Regions from separate parts of the Homo sapiens genome. Here region 1 is linked to region 2. Evidence: promoter capture Hi-C in 16 types of primary human blood cells and fetal thymus (Javierre and others, 2016). All regions are on one chromosome and are shown on one strand. The core of a region is centred on a gene start or on the middle of the fragment in contact, and the rest is flanking DNA. Distances in the headings are between cores, read along the strand shown.

What was found. Contacts are between HindIII fragments. The CHiCAGO score rates a contact against its expected background, and 5 or more counts as called.
Region 1: the fragment with the promoter of TEX2 here is called in contact with the fragment with the promoter of PRR29 in region 2 in 8 of 17 cell types (monocytes, fetal thymus, neutrophils and 5 more); the score reaches 10.2 in monocytes.

What each region holds. Positions count from the first base shown.
Region 1 is chr17:64,261,427-64,264,574 of GRCh38, reverse strand. It overlaps TEX2 (testis expressed 2), which reads left to right and starts at 1,315. Exons shown (of 12, transcript NM_001288732.2): 1 at 1,315-1,407. RefSeq lists a silencer at 1,118-1,727. The HindIII fragment of the contact is 6,481 bases long and covers 1,040-3,148 here.
Region 2 is chr17:63,996,824-63,999,622 of GRCh38, reverse strand. It overlaps PRR29 (proline rich 29), which reads right to left and starts at 1,272. Exons shown (of 6, transcript NM_001164257.2): 1 at 1,199-1,272; 2 at 841-916; 3 at 549-655. The coding sequence starts at 1,258. It overlaps PRR29-AS1 (PRR29 antisense RNA 1), which reads left to right. Exons shown (of 3, transcript NR_126169.1): 1 at 1-1,298; 2 at 1,701-1,858; 3 at 2,360-2,799. RefSeq lists an enhancer at 109-1,086 and a silencer at 1,340-1,389. The HindIII fragment of the contact is 13,369 bases long and covers 1-2,799 here.

The sequences.
Region 1 (3,148 bases), core at 66-2,565, 260 kb before region 2:
CTGGAGGGAGGGGTGTCGAAGGCCATCTCAGACTTACTGAATTACAGGTTCTGGGGTGGGACTTAGAGATCTTCATGTTAAAACCCTCCAGGATGATCTGACGTTGAAGATCTGACATTTGGGACCCACTAATGCAGGAGACACACTGACACATCTGTTTGTTGTCTTGGTCCTTTCTTGTGGTGGGTGGGAAGTGCAGAGGGGCAAGGACTACGGGGGAAGGGGGAACTCTCCCTATGTGCCAGTGCTTCTGCCAGCCAACCCAGGTTCGCAGAAGATAAATGCACAATGGGCATTGCCATCCCAGGAAGCTCATTCTAAGTGAGAATTTACCTCGAGAAGTCACTTTACCTCTCTGAGCCTCAGATATTGCCTCTCTAAAAATGAGTAGTTAATACTATATAAGTTCTAAGCTCTAAGAACTCGTGGCCAGGCGCGGTGGCTCACGCCTGTAATCCCAGTACTTTGGGAGGCTGGGTCCGGCGGATCACGAGGTCAAGAGACCGAGACCATCCTGGCCAACATGGTGAAACCCCGTCTCTACTAAAAATACAAAAATTAGCTGGGCATGGTGGCACGCGCCTGTAATCCCAGCTACTCGGAAGGCTGAGGCAGGAGAATCGCTTTAACCCAGGAGGCGGAGGTTGCAGTGAGCCCAGATGACGGCACTGCACTCCAGCCTGGCGACAGAGCGAGACTCCGTCTCAAACAAAAAAACTAGTAACAGAGTTAGTTCAGGATAGGATGTGGTAGTGTGGTAGTCAGGTGGGGGAAGTACATAATGCGGGAAACTGGGAATTTGCCTTTTTAAATCAATGTCTGCAGTTGGATGGGGATAGATACGTCTGATGGCCCTCTAAAATGCAAATCGAGTGAATTTGCCCAGGGGGATACCCCTGGTTCTCCGCGCCTCAGTCACCCCACCTCAACCCCCAGCCCTCGTCTCAAGGGCACTTGTTGCTGCTAGACTGCAGGAAGAGGAAATTAAGAAGTGCAAAGAGCTGGGGACAGTGTGCAGCCCCGTTGGGAGAGTGAAGCTTTTGTCCCCCTCACCTGGGGCTCTTCCAGGTAACCCTCCCCACCACTCCTCTCCCTAGCTCCAAGGGCGGTGGCCCCTTTAACAGACCTGACAAATCGCTCCCCCATTTCCGCGGCCTCACCTCGGCGCGCGGTAGAACTGGATTGGTTGGGCCTGGCGTGCCGTTTGCTCCGCCCCCGCGCCCTCTGGTTGGCGGCGGCGGCCGCGGGCGCGGGGCGGGTCCGCCGGCGGGGCGGGGCGGCGTGTGCCCGGGGGCGGGCGGGCGGCAGGGCAGCAGGACCGCGGCCGGTGCCCCAGCCGAAGCCGGAGTCGCGCGGCCGGGAGCACGGGCGCCGGCATAGTACAATGAGGCAGCCAGCGGATCTTGGGTGAGCAGTCTCAGGGCCAGGCGGGGGCGGTGGAGGGAGCGCCCCGCGGATAAGGCCCGGGCTGGGCGCGGATCGACCCCGCGGGCTTCAAAGTACCGGTCGGGTCCGGCGGCCCTTGGCGTGGCGGGGCTCGGCCCCCCACCCCGCTGTCATGGTTCAGGTATTGAAGGGGACGCCCACCCGCGACACCCCCGGGCAATCCCTTCCTTCGGGGCCCCGCCGGATGGCTCGGGCTCGACTCCGGCGGGAGGAGCTGCCGGCCCCGTCCCCTCAGCCTGCGGTCCCCGGCCCCGGGCAGGGAGGCACCGTCACGCGCAAACTAGAGGAAAACGGCTTGCAATTTTATGAATGGGGCCCCGGGTTCCTGCCGCCCCCCTCACCGGCGACGCGAAATGCTTGAAAGTCGAGAACCGCAGTTACTTTTACTCGAATCTGTCAGAGGTTGTATGCGCCCCGGTGGTTTTTCTCCAACTCCTGGAGAACGCGGGTGGCGGTGGGGTGGTTTGTGTGCTTTAGCAGGGAGGCGGCGGCGTGCCGAAATCCGGGGGATCGGAAGGTTAACAAGTGACATTGGGCTGAGGCCTAGCGCCAGGTGCCTTGCGGGGAGGCGGTGTGGCCGTGGACGCCGTCGCTGCTGGCTGCTGAGCACGGAAACCATACGGTGGAACCGGAGAAGGCGGGGAACGGCTGGCCACATTGCACCACACGCTGCCTAGAGCGTACGGCTGCCATGGGAGTTGGTGCAGGGGAGTCTTCCCCTTTTGAAAACGATTTTTGGAAAACTTAGCCCCTCAGTGGGTTGATAGTTACTTAAACCATCGGTTGTTATGGTTACTGGGCGTCAAATGTAAGGGCAAAGTCTGTTTCCACCCTCGCTCTTTCTCCAGAGCTATGAAGTACTTTGTCACTGTGTTTTACAGACACTGTCCAGGGAGGACATCCTTTTTTAGAGTTGAGGGAAAATTGTGGGCTCCTTGAGGGCAGGGCTCGTGCCACGTTCACGTTTGAAGTGCCAGCGTCTTCACACCATCACCGCTCTGCACATGCATTAAAAGGAATGAGGCTTTTACATGTTTTGAGGATTCTCAGAGGATTCAGAGGAGTCATTTCAGGAGCCAGGTGTAAGCTGGAGGGGAAACAACGAGTGACTTTTATATGGAAAACAATAAGGAAAAATGGAGGGCAGGTTATCCTTGAACTCTGGAGTATGGGGAGTTTGAGGAGTCTAGGTTTGTGAGTTTTAGGGCTGGGTCACACAGAGACGCTTGTCTCATATTGGAAGAATGAAACTGCCATTTCTGTTAGCTCTTACCTAGCCCATAAACAATATTCTTTCAGATTCTCCCCAAAAATGGTAGTTGGTCTAAAGTTATGGTAAACAAGCCCCCTGAGGTGATGTGGATAGAGTGGGATTTTGCCATATCATTTCTTTCTTTTTTTTCTGGGCCCCTTTGGGAGTGTGAAGGCTTGGAGGGAGAGGATGTGGAGGGCTCTGGGTGAACTGAACTTGCTTGCATGTTTATCTCCAGTAAAAGGCACTGTGCCTGAGAGGAAGGAGATTAACAAATTGATTCAGATCAGAAGATGGTGGTAATTGAGTCTACTGACAAGCAACCGAGGGGCTGGGACAGACGAGGAGGGAGGAAAAATTCAGGAGTTTGGTTTGGGCTGATTGTTGGAGGTCTGAAGAGCAAGTTATGTCATCGTGAGAGAAGATTAGACACAGCATATACCAAACATA
Region 2 (2,799 bases), core at 23-2,522:
CTTCGCCTCCTCCAAGGGTCAAAATCCTACCTGGCTTTCAAGGGCTGGTTCTAAGATCCTCTGCTCCTCCAAGGAGCCTGTCCCCATCCCCCAACCCTATGTGCACTTGTGCTTTGTACCTCTCCATGTGCCATCACAGCCAACCTGGCTTTGTATCCCTAACCATTCATTTATTCATTCACTCGTTCAACAAATATCAGCTGAGCCCCTACACGGTGTCAGGCACCAGGCCAGACGCTCATGATGCATGGGGCAGGGTTACCAGGGTGCCTACCTTCCTGGAGCCTTAAGTCCAGTGGGGGAGGCACTACAGGGAAACCTCCTTGAAAACAAGACCTCGGTGGTCTGGACTTTGGGGGGTCTCTTCCCCGCCCCAACCTTTCATGGAGGCTGAAACATGACAGATGCCAAACAGCCCCAGCCAGAGAGACGGGCTGGCTTCCTGCTCCTCTGTCTCCCAGTTCTTTTCCCCCCTGAACAGGAACCCCAGGTGGATCCGCATCCCTGGACCCACAGGTGAGCGACCCCGGCGGCCCACCCACACGCACCTGAGGGCAGGGCGAGGCAGGCCGGGGCTGCAGCGCTCCAGCCACCAGGCGACTCAGCAGCAGCTGGTGCATCTGCGCGTTCTGCAGCATCATCAGTTCCAGCAGGTCTAGGAAGCGGGGTTCAGCAAGCCCACGCCGGGCCTCCGAGTCCCCCTCCCCCTGACACCCCTGTCCCGGGGGTGAAGAATGGGTTGGCGGGTTGTGCTGCGGGGACTCCCAGAGGATGTGCGAGGCAGAAGAGGGTGAGTGGTGGTGATGGTGGGGGTGGGGTGGGGGGACCCGGGAGTCTCACCTTCCTTCACGCGGCCTGGCTGCGGGGGCGCAGGTGGGACGGCCCACGAGAGGGGCTGCAGGAAGGTGACCCAGGGCTGGGGGTGTGCGCGGAGTCAGCCAGGTGGGGTGGGGGGAATGGATGGGGACACGTCGCGAGCCCCAACCCCCCCGGCCAGTGGCCTCCCTAACCCCGCAGGGGCCAGGTTCTCTCCTCCCCGCCCCGCGGCCTCCCTGCTCCCTGCCACGCCTCTTCCTCTCGGTTTGGGGCTGTCTCTCCTCGTCCCCCACCCCTCCAGGATCTGGCCCCTCCAGGGACAGCTCCCCACTCTGCCGTCTCCCAAGCTAAGGCAGGATCTGCTCCCGGGCTCAGCCCTCACCGTCGGGACTGCGCTCTGCGGTGGGGAGCGACCCCAGCTTCCGCCCGCCCCAGAGGCCATGGCTGGCGCCGGTTGCCTTGGCGACGCCGAGGACGCCAAGGTCTCTTCCCACGCATGCGCGGAGCCCGCCCGTGCTCCTGGGTCTTCCATCTCCCTGCTCCCTCCTGTCTCCTCCTCCGCGGACTTGGGGTCCCCAGGAGCCCTCCCCCGCCACCAGGAGGCCAGTCTCCTCCCCGGCATGTCCACCTCCCGCCGCGCTGCTCGGGGCTCCCCTCCCCTCCCCTTGCTGGTTCCCAGAACTGGGCCTGGGTTAGTGCGGGGAAGGGGGGTGTGTTTGTTGAGTGAATAAGCGAGTGACTGGGGAGGCTTGGTTTCGGGGTCCCAGAGCCCGATTGACTCAGCTGAAAAGTTCAGGAGAAACAGAGACTTTTGCAGGAGCAGGCTGGGGGCTAGGGCAGACGAGTGAGGAGGACAAAGGGTCTGTTCCCTGTCACTCTGACAGAGAGAGGGGCTTCCTGCCAGGAAAGAGTGGTTTCTGGAGCAGACCAAGGAAGGAAACACCGCCCGAATTCACGGAAGAGGCTGAGGACTCTGGCTGGAAACACGTGGCCGGCTTCTCGCCTCTCTCCTTGCGGCTATTTGCCCTGTTTCCTGGCCAAGGTGAGCCACTGCTCCTCAGACGAGGAAAATCGTGGTGACTTCAGCACCCGCGTCCCCAGTACTGTCTCCCGTACTGGAAAAGTTACCAAAGCACGCGTTCTTTTGACAGGAAGTTAGCAAGGTCTTCCTTGCTTAAGAACAGGTGAAGGGGGAGATCTATTTCTGCAGCTGTGACCATCCTAAGATAGGCCCCCGGCAGCAGTCAAGGAAAATCCAGACAGGAAGCTGGGCTTAGCACCCCGAGTAGCCCTTCCCCCACTCTCCATGTCAGCTCCCCTTCCTGCCAGTCCTGGAGTAAGAACCAGAAAGACCATTCCCACCTCCTCCTTTGCTCCGTAGTACCTGTCTCTAGGGGAGCAGGCTTGTGGGCATTACTTTACTGTCCCCATGGGTCTTATGGCTTCAACAGCCATTAACAAGCTGAGATCCAGGCACTGGGGTCACAGCCCCCCAGTGAGTAGAACACAGAGATGCCTCTCTCCATCTCCATTCTCATTCCAGGTAGAAAGAGAACAAGCCATTTTGCTCATCATCAACAAACCTTGACCAAGGAAGTGTCTGCGTGTGCAATGTGCCATCTGAACCCTGGAGGCATAAGCAGTATGGTCACTTGTCCCAGCATTGTTGGGAAGTGAAAATGTATCCATGGAAAGAGAGCAGAAAGATAAGACTACGCCCCGGGGATAATGAAAAAGAGAGGACTTGACCGCTGAGGGATGGAGTTCCAAGGAAGTCAGTCCTTGATGGGGCCAAGCAGCAGGGGAAGACGGGCGCTATCAGGCTGGGGACAGAGCCCAAGCCAAGACCCAGGTGTATGAATGGACAGGACCTGAGATGACCCGGTGGGTCAAACTGTCTGACTGTAGAAGAGGAGCTGGGCAGAGAGCAGAGGTCCAGGGACAGGCCAAGGTTTGGAATGCCAAGGTTTGGAATTTAGGCTT